Regions from separate parts of the Homo sapiens genome. Here regions 1 and 3 are each linked to region 2. The links are contacts of gene promoters, found by promoter capture Hi-C in blood cells and fetal thymus (Javierre and others, 2016). All regions are on one chromosome and are shown on one strand. The core of a region is centred on a gene start or on the middle of the fragment in contact, and the rest is flanking DNA. Distances in the headings are between cores, read along the strand shown. Region 1 overlaps JPT2 (Jupiter microtubule associated homolog 2). Region 2 holds the start of TMEM204 (transmembrane protein 204). Region 3 overlaps GNPTG (N-acetylglucosamine-1-phosphate transferase subunit gamma).

Evidence for each region. The method cuts DNA at HindIII sites, captures the fragments that hold promoters and counts their contacts. A CHiCAGO score of 5 or more calls a contact.
Region 1: a contact is called between a fragment that was not itself captured here and the fragment with the promoter of TMEM204 in region 2, in 1 of 17 cell types (endothelial precursors). The highest score is 5.5, in endothelial precursors.
Region 3: a fragment that was not itself captured here is called in contact with the fragment with the promoter of TMEM204 in region 2 in 2 of 17 cell types (naive B cells and total B cells); the score reaches 5.8 in naive B cells.

Annotation. Positions count from the first base shown.
Region 1 is chr16:1,680,494-1,685,275 of GRCh38, forward strand. All of the region lies in intron 1 of JPT2 (Jupiter microtubule associated homolog 2), which reads left to right. Among named protein-coding and RNA genes, the nearest start is that of JPT2, 4.6 kb to the left of the region's middle. The HindIII fragment of the contact is 382 bases long and covers 2,934-3,315 here.
Region 2 is chr16:1,531,441-1,535,944 of GRCh38, forward strand. TMEM204 (transmembrane protein 204) reads left to right here and starts at 2,226. Exons shown (of 3, transcript NM_024600.6): 1 at 2,226-3,115. The coding sequence starts at 2,836. All of the region lies in intron 19 of IFT140 (intraflagellar transport 140), which reads right to left. RefSeq lists enhancers at 1,552-2,255, 2,256-2,959. The HindIII fragment of the contact is 3,167 bases long and covers 1,253-4,419 here.
Region 3 is chr16:1,362,091-1,366,929 of GRCh38, forward strand. It overlaps GNPTG (N-acetylglucosamine-1-phosphate transferase subunit gamma), which reads left to right. Exons shown (of 11, transcript NM_032520.5): 6 at 1-41; 7 at 116-230; 8 at 362-444; 9 at 521-652; 10 at 735-816; 11 at 907-2,023. The coding sequence ends at 1,001. It overlaps UNKL (unk like zinc finger), which reads right to left. Exons shown (of 15, transcript NM_001372107.1): 15 at 1,115-4,305. The coding sequence ends at 4,150. Among named protein-coding and RNA genes, the nearest start is that of GNPTG, 13 kb to the left of the region's middle. The HindIII fragment of the contact is 4,861 bases long and covers 1-3,681 here.

The DNA of each region.
Region 1 (4,782 bases), core at 1,875-4,374, 150 kb after region 2:
ATGAGGTATCACTGGAAGCTTCTGCTTGGGGTCCACCAGACGCTGCACATTTGCCACTCATCTGAACGGGGTCGAGTCGCAGGGCGGGCGCCTTGTAAGCGTCACATTTAGTTTTGCTGTGAAGCGAGTCAGGTGGTGGCTGTAAGATTACCTAGCCAGGTTTTCCTCTCCTGAGACCTCACATCTCTCCTTTCCTTGCTGAGGGATTGTCTTGTGTTAAAGGGGTTTCGTAAAAGCGTTATGCTTTAGCCGCGATTAACCTGAGGTCTTCCTTCAAGCTGGAACATTTCTATTTGTAAGGAATTTAATCCAAGTTTATTTCTCACTGCTTCTCTCTAAGCCTGACCAGTCCCCTCATCCTTTCTGAAACTCGGGGACAAACTATTAGAGAGGGTCAGGAGCATGGAGACCCCCGAGGAGGGTCACACAGCTTTTCCCTACCTCTCCAGTGCTGCAGTCCACTCCAGCTGTGTGAGGTTTTTCTTCTCCTGTGCGCTTGAGTTTCTCTTGTGTGTTTTGAATATCTTCACTGAAATATATGGAAGGGGTACCACAAAAGGCAAAAAATAATTGGGAAGCACCCCCCACTCACATTGTGAATTTGTCCCCAAATGTGTGAGCTCTAGCGTTCCCCCTCCCCCTATTAGTGTCATAGTGGTAAGTGCCTGTAGCCTAGAGAAAGCCACACTGCGCCATTGTTGTCGGGCTGTTTTTGTTGAAAGGTCTATTGAACGCTCAGTTCCATTCATCCGAGACCCCTTTGAGGCAGCCCAGCCCTGCGGTCTGTGTGAAACCTGCAGTGGGACCTGTTGCCTTTGTGACCGAGATAGCCGCTGCCCCTTGCCTGGGGCTGGGCCTGTGTGCGCCATAATTTCTGCTAAAACCGTCTTTGGTACCACTTTTTTTTCTTTGCTTGTTTTCAAATAAAATTCAGAAAAGCACATAGAACAATATTAAATATTGTGTTTCCATCACCCCAAAGTAACACTGGTCATTGCAAGTAACTACCACTCACCTCCTGCGCCCATTGGTCCCCATTCCACATGGAGGCCACAGACTCAATTTGGGTTTCACCTCTTCCAAATTTTGGAGTCCCGATGGCACTAGGCGTCTGTCACGTCACTCACACAGACACTGAAACCACCTGTGCAGAGCTCTAGCTTTCCTGTTTAAACTTGAAGCTCCTCCGGGGTAAGGACTTGCTTTCCTCTATCTACGGCGTCTGGGGAAGGATTGCCAATGATAGGTGCTCGAGAGATGTGCAAGTTGAACTGAAGCAAGGGTGAAAGGCAGAGGAGACAGGAGACTGTGAATGTAGGGAATGTGGGGTCGGGAAAGAGTCCTACAGAGCTTGCAGTCAAGGCGAGTCTACCTGGAATCAGATCTGACAGTTTGTAGCACCTTGAGGGCTTGAGAGAAAAGCCATATTTGAAATAAGTCAGTAAAAGGAATTATAGCTCATGCTCAGCTCACATAAGACTTGATAAATTCAGTTCAGTTCGAAAGATTGCAGGCCTTCATCCCTTATTTCCAAAGAGAGAACTGTAGAGACCCGTGCATGTTTAGACCTGCTACACTATCCAAGAAAAATCGCAGAATTGGCTGGGCACAGTGGCTCACGCCTGTAATCCCAGCACTTTGGGAGGCCGAGGCGGGCGGATCACTTGAGGTCAGGAGTTTGAGACCAGCCTGGCCGACGTGGTGAAACCCCGTCTGTACTAAAAATACAAAAAAATAGCCAAGCACGGTGACGCACACCTGTAATCCCAGCTACTCGGAAGGCTGAGGCGGGAGAATTGCTTGAACCTGGGAGGTGGAGGTTGCGGTGAGCTGAGATCGCGTCACTGTATTCCAGCCTGGTAACAGAGTGAGACTCCATCTCAAAAAAATAAAATAGGCCGGACACAGTGGCTCATGCCTGTAATCCCAGCACTTTGGGAGGCTGAGGTGGGCGGATCACCTGAGGTCAGAAGTTCAAGACCAGCCTGGCCAACATGGTGAAACCCCGTCTCTACTAAAAATAGAAAAATTAGCTGGGCATGGTGGCGGGCATCTGTAATCCCAGCTACTCAGGAGCCTGAGGCAGGAGAATCGCCTGAACCCAGGAGGTGGAGATTGCAGTGAGCCGAGATTGTGCCATTGCACTCTGGCCTGGGCAACAAGAGCGAGATTTCGTCTCAAAAAAAAAAAAAAATGTAGAATTAGGAGGGCTGCGTGATTCAAAAATGGATATGGAAGTCAGATGGCCTTATGGCCACTCTAAGAGCACCTCACCTAAAATCTTGTTAAGCCACGCCCTCCCACCCACCACCCTTTATTTTTTTTCCTTTTGGTGAAACAAGTCCTCACTCTTTCGTCCAGGCTGGTGTACAGTGATGCAATCATGGTTCACTGCAGCTTTGACCTCCTGGGCTCAAGCCAGCCTTAGCCTCCCGAATAACTGGGACAACAGGCGCATACCACCACACCCAGCTAATTTTTTGTTTGTTTGTTTGTTTTTTTGAGACGGAATCTCGCTCTGTCACCCAGGCTGGAATGCAGTGGCGCATCTTGGTTCACTGCAAGCTCCGCCTCCCGGGTTCACGCCATTCTCCTGCCCCAGCCTCCTGAGTAGCTGGGACTACAGGCGTCCGCCACCACGCCCGGCTAATTTTTTGTATTTTTAGTAGAGACGGGATTTCACCGTGTTAGCCAGGATGGTCTCGATCTCCTGACCTCGTGATCCGCCCACCTCGGCCTCCCAAGGTGCTGGGATTACAGGCGTGAGCCACCACGCCTGGCCTTATTTTTGTATTTTTTGTAGAGACAGGGTCTCCCCATATGCCCAGGCGTGTCTCGAACTCCTGGGCTCAAACAGTCCTCCCACCTCGGCCTCCCAAGGTGCTGGGATTACAGGTGCCAGGTACTGCTCCCGGACAGCCCTTTCTCATTTAAGCTTGGTTATTGGTTATTTTTAAAAAATAATTTTTCTTAAGTGCACCTGTCTTTTTTTTTCTCCCTCCTCAAATCCTCCAGGAAATGGCAACTGCTGACAGGAAGTTTGGCATCCACCTCCCCCAGCCTCCTGAGTGGACAGGGGCCCTGGGCACCACTTCAGAGGTCGGCCAGCACACGCTTGGTTTCTGGGGTACAGTAGCCAGCCCGTGGGTCTCTGCAGGCGGAGACTGAAGCACTCTCTGCCTTCCTGCTTTATAGCAGGAGATCTGAGAACTCCATTCACATCCAGTCACAAGGAGCCCTCAGCGCTCTTTCTAGATCTTTTGAGGAGAAACTGTTATTTTTGTTAACCAAACCTTGAGTGGTCAGTGTTTGCAAAGCTTTCCAGTGAGATCTAACCTCATATCATAGTTTTTGTGTGATGTTGAGCCCTGTAATTTCAAGTATGGTCATCCTTGGTATCCTGCGGGAGTTGGTTCCAGGACCCCCAGGATGCCAAAATCCAAGGATGTGTAAGTCCTTGATATAAAGTGGTGTAATGTTTGCATATAACCTATGCACATCCTCCATATGCTTTTAAATCATCTCTAGGTTACAAGGTTACATATAATACCTAATACTATGCACATAGTTGTTACACCGTATCACCTGGGGAATAATGACAGAAAAGAAGTCTGTAGATGTTCAGTACAGATGCAACCATCCTTTTATTTCTGACATTTTGATCTGAGGTTGGTTGAATCCATGGAAGCAGAGCCCGTGGATACAGAGGGCTGACTTCGTTTCTAAACGTCTGGGATCACAGACAGTCCCATTGCTTAGGACTAGTGAGAGAGCATGTGCCACTCACTGGTTTAAATCTCAATTTCAGTAAGCCTCTCTCTCAAATGCATTTAAAAGTTTTTCCAGTTGTTATGAATTCAGCGTTTCACCGGTTTTTAATGTAGATAGTGCTCTAGAAATAGAGCTTTGTGGCAATTCCTTATTAGTTCTTAAGTTTAAGTTTTTACAATAAAAAGTGATTCAAGAGCCAGGTGCGATGGCCCACACCTGTAATCCCAGCACTTTGGGAGGCCGAGGCAGGTGGATCACCCCAGGTCAGGAGTTCGAGACCAACCTGACCAACATGGCGAAACCCCGTCTCTACTAAAAATACAAAATTAGCTGGGTGTGGTGGCGCATACCTGTAATCCTAGCTACGTGGGAGGCTGAGGCAGAAGAATTGCTTGAACCCAGGAGGCGGAGGTTGTGGTGAGCTGAGATTGCGCCATTGCATTCCTCCAGCCTGGGCAACAAGAGTAAAACTCCGTCTCAAAAAAAACAAACAAAAGTTAGCCAGGTGTTGTGGCAGGCACCTGTAATCTGAGCTACTCAGGAGACTGAGGCTGGAGAATCACTTGAACCCAGGAGGCAGAGGTTGCAGTGAGCTGAGATCGTGCCACTGCACTCCAGCCTGGGCGACAGAGCGAGACTCCATCTCAAAAAAAAAAAAAAAAGAATACTTTTAAGGGAAACTAAAGAGCAGCAGAAGTAGTCTGGCGTCTGTAAACTAGTCATACCAGTATTAACTAATGGTGGTATGTGATTTCTCAGTAGATGTTAAGAAAATACTTTTGCTGGGTATGGTGGCTCATACCTGTAATCACAGCACTTTGGGACGCCAAGGTGGGCAGATCACTTGAGCTTAGGGGTTCAAGACCAACTTTGGCAACATGGCAAAACCCTGTCTCTACCAAAAATACAAAAAATTAGCCAGCTGTGGTGGTGGGTGCCTGTAATCCCAGCTACTCAGGAGGCTGAGGTGGGAGGATCACTTGAGCCCAGGAGGCAGAGGTTGCAGTGAGC
Region 2 (4,504 bases), core at 976-3,475:
CTCCCGCTCTGCTGGGTATATGGGAGCCGCAGGCACATATGTGGGAGGGGGCAGTGGGACTCCACCGTGACCAAGACCCCAAGCAACAGGGAGAGCAGGAGGGTGTGATGCACTGTGGGGGAAGCCCACCGCCCAGCTGCGAGTCCCCTTACTGGGAGTCACCCCCCGAGAGCCACAGATCCTCCCAGGAGGGTCGCTCTTAACTTACATGCTGCTCCCAGGCCTTCCGCCCTCCCGCGCCCAGCCTGCCATAGCGCGCAGGGTTAGAAGCGGCGTGACAGCTGAGGGCACAGGGACCTGGAGCACCCCAGAAGTGCCAGGAGAGTGGAGGCCGATGCTGGCCTCTGCGAACCAGGACTTCTGGGGGTGCTGCCGCTGTGTAGGAGTCTGGCCGTGGCCTCCTCCCCACTCAACCTGAGGAAAGGACCAGAGCGGGCCGCTGAGACAATCAAACGTGTCCTCTGGGCTCTGAAACCCAGCATTGGCTTTTTGTTGGAAGTTAGCCATTTGAAGACTCCCGAAAGATTAATGGTTTAGTTAATTAAGGAGGAAATAAATTCTTCCCCCATGGAAACTTTTGGGAGACTTCCCTTTCAAGGCCCCCTTCTGCACCGTGTGCTTAGGAACACTGAGTGTTTGAGACACTGCACCCCCGTCCACCTCCGAGGAGCAGGGCACAGGCAGGAAGGGCTGGGGACATCCCCCCAGGGCCTTCCGAGCCACCCGGGAGAGTGGGGGCCGGCAGCACCACTGTGCCCCGCACGCCCCGTCAGGTTCCGGGGGCTGAGAACAGAAATAGAAACAGCAGCTTTTCCCTGGGCACAAGCCAAGGAAGAGGGGAAAGGAGAAACCTGACGGACACGTCTGCGACAAATCCCCGGGGAAAATCCCCCCCAGGCACGTCCCTCAGGAAGCCAGTGGAGAAACGCTTCTCAGGACCCAGCACGCACCACGGGCTGGTGAGGACGGAGCTGCTGCCTTTCTGGAACAGACACAGGGCGTGTGTGGGGAACCTTGCTTCACCTGTGGATATACAGAGCCACATGCCAACGTGTGAATGGAGACTGGTCCCAGGAAGTGGCAGCTCTCGGGACCGCCCTGAGCCAGGGCCCAAGCACGGGCAGTGCAAGGACAGGAAACGGTCAAAGCTCTGCTGTTACCACAGGCTGGGAACAGGACTCTCTGTCCCAGCACTGTCTTGGGCGTGTGCCCATGAACAGTTTGCACGGATGTGGGACACCTGCATTCACGAAGCTTTGGAGCCTGGGTAGGCTGGGAATCCCATGCTGGGTTTCGGGTCTCTGGAGATGGGACAGAGTAGGAGACCCTCTCGTGGTGTCTGCCCAGCTGGGCAGAATAATTCTGAGCAGAATAGACGAAGATGCTTCTGAGCTCCCTGGCAGCATAAGCTCTGCCCGAGAGCCTGACCACTCACAAGGTGACCTGCCTAGTCCTGTCCCCAGCTGTGGGGGGTGACCGTTCCCATCAATAGCAGAGGTGGCCCAGGCCCCACGTGACATTCGCTCTGTCCCAGGCCCCGCTGAGAGCCCCACCCAGCACATCCAGAATCTTACCCTTCTTGCCACCTAAGAATGACCTGGCCTCGAGGTCCTCCAAGTACAGGTCCCTGGCCCCGAGGTCCTCCAAGTACAGGTCCCTGGCCCCAAGGCCCTCCAAGTACAGGTCCCTGGCCCCGAGGTCCTCCAAGTACAGGTCCCTGGCCCTGCAGGTCTGGGTGAACTTGCTCCCTCCAGGCACACGGGTCTCTCCCCTTCCCAGCAATCCTGTGATATCTGCCCCCCTTTTGAGGGCAGCATTCCCGTGGCGGGGGCAGGCCTGGAACACACGGGCGGGGGGAGGCTTGTGGTTCCTATGGTCCTGGGGGTACCTATGGTCCTGGGGGCAACTGGATGGCTGGGGGGTGTGAAGTCCCCAGGGCAGGCAATAGTCGCTCAGTACCAGCCTCCAGGCCCCGGGGGCCACCAGGCTTAAAAGCAACAGGCGAGACGAGGGATCTGTCCCGCACCCGGCATCCCTGGCCTCTCCTCTGGGACAGGAAGATGGGGAGGGGCGGCAGGAGGTGGGCCTGGAGCAGGGCCTCAGAAGTCTCCTGGCCTTTCCCATCAGGAAGCACATCCTGTTGGTGTCTGGCTGCCGCGGCAGGGCCGCTATTTGTTGCGGTTGGCTACGCCTTCCAGCTCACCAAAAACAGTCTCAAAAACAACCATTTCCTCTCTGCTGAGAGCCAGGGAAGGCGAGCTCTGCGCACACGGGCGTCCCTGCAGCAGCCACTCTGCTTTCCAGGACCGGCCAACTGCCCTGGAGGCATCCACACAGGGGCCCAGGCAGCACAGAGGAGCTGTGAACCCGCTCCACACCGGCCACCCTGCCCGGAGCCTGGCACTCACAGCAGGCCGGTGCTAAGGAGTGTGGCGCGGGCTCGACTCCCACTGCTGCCGGCCTCCCGAGTGACTCTGTTTTCCACTGCTGCAGGCGAGAAGAGGCACGCGCGGCACAGGCCGGCCTCCGCTTCCCGGGAAGACGGCGCACTCCTGGCCCTGGGTTCTTGCTGCTGCCCACCCTCTGCTCCCTGGGATGGGCCCCGAGGCGAGCAGCTTCAGCACAGGCCTGGCCCTGCTCCAGGTGCAGGAAGGAGGATAAGGCCGGGCCGAGAGGCGGCACACCTGGACCATCCCATGGGCCTCCGCCCGCGCCGCCCCGAGGATGAGTGGTGATGTCCTCTAGCCACCCCTAGCAGCGTCGGCTCTCCCTGGACGTGCGGCCGCGGACTGGGACTTGGCTTTCTCCGGATAAGCGGCGGCACCGGCGTCAGCGATGACCGTGCAGAGACTCGTGGCCGCGGCCGTGCTGGTGGCCCTGGTCTCACTCATCCTCAACAACGTGGCGGCCTTCACCTCCAACTGGGTGTGCCAGACGCTGGAGGATGGGCGCAGGCGCAGCGTGGGGCTGTGGAGGTCCTGCTGGCTGGTGGACAGGACCCGGGGAGGGCCGAGCCCTGGGGCCAGAGCCGGCCAGGTGGACGCACATGACTGTGAGGCGCTGGGCTGGGGCTCCGAGGCAGCCGGCTTCCAGGAGTCCCGAGGCACCGTCAAACGTAAGTCCAATTGTTTTCCTGATGCCTTCAGCGTGGCCGAGGCTCGAGGGCACATGGGAGATGTTAGGCGCGGACCTGGTGAGCGGGTGGGGAGGCCTGGCCCCTGCTCTGCCCTGAGCGTGGCCTCTGGGCAGGCAGGAGGGGGCACTGTGTCTCCCAGGGAACCAGGCCCCAAGGCCCCCTCTCCCTGGTGAGTGGTGGCCCCACACACTCCTCCTGCTCAGCACAGAATCTGCCTCCAGCTCTTTTACACAGGAATTCATCTCAGGCATTTGGGGGGCCTCTCTGCCGTTACACATAGTTAAGAGATGGGTACATTAATCAAATCAAGGAAAGGCATTTTTCCTTGGTTGAAAATAATTATTACGGCTGGGCGCAGTGGTTCACGTCTGTAATCCTAGCGCTTTGGGAGGCTGAGGCGGGAGGACTGCTTGAGGCCAAGAGTTCAAGACGAACCTAGCCTACATAGCGAGAGACCCTGTCTCTGAACATAAAAAAAAAATGAAAATGCTCTTTCTTTACTCATGAGTAAAATAAACAAGAAGTTTAAAAATACACGGGTGAGTTCTGGCTTTGTTCTCACGGTTGTTGGGGTCTTTGAGGCAGAGAGCAGCAGCAGGATCCCCAGGGATGAGCTTCAGATGGGACGCTGGAAAGGAGACAGGGAGGCCAGGACGCTCGGAAGGGGACAGGGATGCTCAGTGGTTGCAGAGGAGAGGAAGGGGCTCAGAATGATGCCACCGCACCGTGGGGTTTGAGTGGCAGGTGTGAGGCTGCATAAATAGGAAGGCGCTTACAGCCCATGGGGTCATCTCAACAGTCACGGCACAGGGACACAAGGTCTCCCAAAGGCCGACTCTCTGAAACTGTCAGCAAGGTTTTGACTCGCAGACACCCCAAGTCTCTGCTGCAGAGCCTCACAGACTCGGGGTTGGACGCTCCTTCTGCTCTGAAGATAATGCTGGTCTCTGAGGCAGTGCCTCTGCTCCAGGCTTCCGAGGGAGTCCCGGAGTACTGGGGTAACACACATCACGTGTGCCTCAACCACACAGCTCCATCCCCAACCTGCCGCGCTCAGAACCCTCAGCGGGGAATGTCATCCCCACTTCACAGGCAAAGAAACTGAGGCTTTGCAGAAGGCATGTGGCTTGGACAAGGTCCCACGAGGGAATTCAACCCCCTTGTCCACTCAAAGGCCCTCGGCTGCACCGCACAGCCTGGACTGCGCACTTCCTCTCGCATCCTTCACCAGCAGGGACCAACAGCCGTCTTTTAAAAAGATCAAAGCCTATGAATAACTTCAAAGCTTCCACCGGCTCTCAGAACTCGGTGTCTTATGGGAAGCCCGAGGCTTGGGTCTCCGCGTGACTCCGGCCAGGCGCCCTTCTT
Region 3 (4,839 bases), core at 1-2,500, 170 kb before region 2:
GGGACGGTGACGCCTGCCGTTCCCGGAGCCGGCAGAGCAAGGTGGGGCCTCAGACGGGAGCCCGGGAAGAGGGGCCCCAGTCTCCCCAACCCACCTACCCACGTTCCCTCCCCAGGTGGAGCTGGCGTGTGGAAAAAGCAACCGGCTGGCCCATGTGTCCGAGCCGAGCACCTGCGTCTACGCGCTGACGTTCGAGACCCCCCTCGTCTGCCACCCCCACGCCTTGCTAGGTAGGGGTGCGGGACGCAGTTGAGCCCAGTGGGGTCAGCCGCGCACGCAGCCCTGCTGGAGGCCCTGTAGTGCTGGGGGCCAGGGTTGGGACATGGGGTGCAGCTGAGCCTGGCTTCTCTTGGGTCCTCAGTGTACCCAACCCTGCCAGAGGCCCTGCAGCGGCAGTGGGACCAGGTAGAGCAGGACCTGGCCGATGAGCTGATCACCCCCCAGGTAAGCGTGCGCTCGGGGTGGCCCCTGGTGGGCCTGGCTGGGAGCTGGGTGCTGCCCCTGCATCCTCCACCTTCAGGGCCATGAGAAGTTGCTGAGGACACTTTTTGAGGATGCTGGCTACTTAAAGACCCCAGAAGAAAATGAACCCACCCAGCTGGAGGGAGGTCCTGACAGCTTGGGGTTTGAGACCCTGGAAAACTGCAGGAAGGTACCGTATTGGGGGGAGGTGGTGGCACGCAGTAGCCCTCCAGCACCTGGGCTTTCCCTTGAACTCTTTTTGTGGTTGGTAGGCTCATAAAGAACTCTCAAAGGAGATCAAAAGGCTGAAAGGTTTGCTCACCCAGCACGGCATCCCCTACACGAGGCCCACAGGTGAGTCACCTGTGGGGAGAGGGCCAGGCTCACCATCACACTCGCCACCTGTGGGTCCAGGTGAGGACTGGCCACCTGGTGTTTTGGCAGAAACTTCCAACTTGGAGCACTTGGGCCACGAGACGCCCAGAGCCAAGTCTCCAGAGCAGCTGCGGGGTGACCCAGGACTGCGTGGGAGTTTGTGACCTTGTGGTGGGAGAGCAGAGGTGGACGCGGCCGAGAGCCCTACAGAGAAGCTGGCTGGTAGGACCCGCAGGGACCAGCTGACCAGGCTTGTGCTCAGAGAAGCAGACAAAACAAAGATTCAAGGTTTTAATTAATTCCCATACTGATAAAAATAACTCCATGAATTCTGTAAACCATTGCATAAATGCTATAGTGTAAAAAAATTTAAACAAGTGTTAACTTTAAACAGTTCGCTACAAGTAAATGATTATAAATACTACCTTCTGGGTTAAGAAAATTCCATTCAAATAACATTCTCATGTAAATACTCAAACATACAGATTGAGGCTTCCAGAAATTAATCCACTTGAGGCGTCCACGCGGAACAAGGTCTGCTGACCACAGTTACACACGTCGTGACACCACTGTATCACGGCGAATGTCGAACACTAGAGTTACAGACGACAGGCAACAAGAACATGCAGAGCCGGCCGCCAGCCAGCTCCTACGCCCCGTGCCCGCCATGGCCACAGGGGGGAGCTGCTGGGCGCGCCTCCACCTCAGCCTCCACGGGGCACCTTCCAGCCACTGCTGTGCCTCAGCCACCTAGGAGCCATCCCTGAGGCCATGGCCACCAAGACAGGTGAGGGAGGCCCCAGGGCACACAGCCCCAGGATCTTGCCCCCATTTCCAACCCTGGCAGCGCTGCCAGCCATTCTTTGGTCTTCCCACTGCTCACCTGTCCTCAGAGCCAGTACTGATCTAGGGGAGCAGGTGCCACCTCCATCTCCCAGCTGTCCCCCCACCCCTGGGGCTCCCCAGCTCTACCACCCCGGAAGCTGAGCCCTGGAGACACCCTGAGGGGCGGGCGCCACCTCCTTCCCAGAAAGAGCAGAGCAGCTGGCAGACTAGAGCTCAGCTGCTCCTGACCACTGACAACCGGGAGATGTCTCGGCAGACACCACTTATCCCAGAAAAGACCAGAGGCTCCAAATGGGAACCAAGTGCATAAATACAAATAAAAACAGAGTTTACACATCGATGACAGTAGCACAAAATATACGTAATTTCTAGATACTGAGCTAATAAATCACTGTAGTTAAAAACAAAATAGATTCACTGAAACCAAGTCGATAGTTACCTTGGAGTAGTGGACTAGCTGCAGAATGTCACGGACCCACTTCCTTTAAAACAACAGAATGTTGCTATCAGTTTGTCTTACGTTAAAACAGTTCTTAAACCACCTACTATATTAAATACATTCTAATTTGGTCACTGATGATAAAGATTTTTACCTAGACGTTTTGCACTTAAAAAATGCTATTAAAAGTCTTTGGCAAAGCCACGGTCGGGGAGAAACACGTCGGTGCCGCTTCCCACTCGTGTGCCCTCACCACCCACGTGGCCCGCGGAGAGCCAGGTCGCCGTAAACCACAGATGCCTGTTCCTGCTCAACTCCTAGGGACAGTCCCAGCCCTGAGCAGAAGGGTCAGGTCATCGCGGGGATGCGTTCTCAGTCACGTTTCTGCTGCGGCCGAAACCACACTGTCGCTCCAGGGGCAGACGGGACAGGGGACCACAGCAGAGCCGGGACCTGGGGGGGGTCGCTTCCCCCGTGTGCTCCAGGCCACTGAGAGGCTGTGGCCGGGTCCTCTCCTGTGACCTCACTGGCCACATGGATGAGCTCCGATGATAACTGGCAGCGCGGGTCAGGTGACTGCCACATACACCCGGCACCCCGGACCCTGGCGCACACACGGCCCGAGCATCTCCCACACGAGCAGGACCAGGGTGGTCACGGGTGCTGGGGAGGCAACCACTCTCCCAGTTCACTGCCTGACCCCTGCCAGGACGCCCAGCGACATCTCCAAGGAGCTACAAAGCACCATTGCCTAGGACAGCTCTGAGTAATCAGAAAACAGCTTTTTTTTTTTTTTTTTGAGCCAGAGTCTCGCTCTGTCACCCGGGCTGGAGTGCGGTGGCGCGATCTCGGCTCACTGCAACCTCTGCCTCCCAGGTTCAAGCGATTCTCCTGCCTCAGCCTCCCGAGTAGCTGGGACTACAGGTGCCCGCTCTCACGCCAGGCCAATTTTTGTATTTTTACTAAGACGGGGTTGCACCATGTTGGCCAGGCTGGTCTTGAACTCCTGACCTTAGGTGATCCACCCGCCTCCCAAAGTGCTGGGATCACAGGCATGAGCCACCGCACCCAGCCAGAAGACAGCTGCTTAAAAAAGTAATTCTAAAAGCTCTGACGTCGGATCCCCTCTGCTGCGTTTTTTGTTAGTATCAAACTGTCTTTCAGAGGGTTAAGGGAGAAAACAAAACCCATGATGCTCCTTCACTTGCTCTCCGAGGCGCAGGCGCACAGAAACAGCGGCCACGGACCACAGAAATGCAGGACGGAGCTCTCCTGCTCCCACGCCACGAGGCTGGAACATCAGCCCCAGTGCCTGGTGCACACACAGGCTCAGGAAAACTAGCTCCTTCCATCAAGTTAAAAACATCTCAATCCATAATCACTCTGCTTATAAATACTATTTGCACTTAATTGGAAAATGTAAAAATCCTAGGTCTTACTACTAGATAAACACTCATTTCATAAGTACTAGTTTCAGAATATGAAATCTAATATATTTAGCATACTATGAATTGACAATAAACTGATATGAAATATTTAAGTTCACAGTACACATATAAAGCTTCATATTATCGCATATTAAAAAAAAACAGAAAGCAGCTTAGAGCAATTTATAACCTCTAACTAAATTCCTCGGTTTACAAAGTGCTTTGAAAGACCCCAGCTCCCAGTGGCCTAGTCACAGTAGTGTCAGGACCACAAACTGCTGTGATCACAGCGCCGCGTGGATCCCGGAGGCACCAGGCCCCTCAGGGACAGGCAGGCGGGTTCTGTGGGTTTGCATTTAAGGTTTTTGAGGAAAATACCTTGAAACCGTCGGTAGGACTAGATAGGTGACAACGTGTGACAGGAAAGGCTGTCAGGCCAAGCGCAGGCGGGGCTCCCAGCCTCATGATAACGTGTAACAGGAAGGGCTCCCAGCCTCGGTCCTCACGTCGGTGGCACCAGAAGCGAGTGACGACATGTCCGTGGTCAGGAGGAGCGCTGGAGCCAGGGTGCCCAGCAGGAGGTGGCTGTCCCCGCTGAGGTCACCACTGCAGGGGCTGGCCCTTGCAGTAGGGGCACTCAGGTGCGGTGGCCGCACACGGCTCACAGAGGATGTGGTGCTGACAGGGCCGCAGGACAGCACCGTGGGCCCGCTCCCGGCAGGCCACACACTGCTTGGCGCGGAGCTGGAAGATCACCTGCAGGGCCAGAACAATGACGGGCTCAGGAGGCCCCTGCCCAGGCTGGGCCAGCTGGGGAGCCGGAGGGCCTTCCGGGCAGGACTCAGCATCTCAGGCCGCCCGGCCACCAGCTACAGAGACAGGGTCAGGGAGACGCCCCAGCCAGGGCCACCTCAGGGAGAAGGCAGCTGCGGGGTCAGGGGGTATGCTCTGTCTTAAGAGCCCTGGGCAGAGGACAGCCTCCTGGGGCCACCACAGACACGGCAGTGGCCAGACAGGCCAGGCCCCTGAGGGCAGCTGGGTGCCCAGGATGTGGGCTACGCAGGACCCTCTGTCCTATAGCAGCGAGTCCAAGAGCCCACCCTTAGCAGGCGAGGTGAGGAGGGGCACGCCGAAGTGGAGGGGTCATGTGTGAGGGTCACAGCTGTGAACAGGGAGGGATGGGGCCACGGGGAGCAGTGTGGCATTCGCTGACAAGAGGGAGGGGTGAAAGGGCAAGGGCCAGCCTGACAGGAAAGGCGGCTCCCAGGGAGACAGGCAAGGAGGCCACAG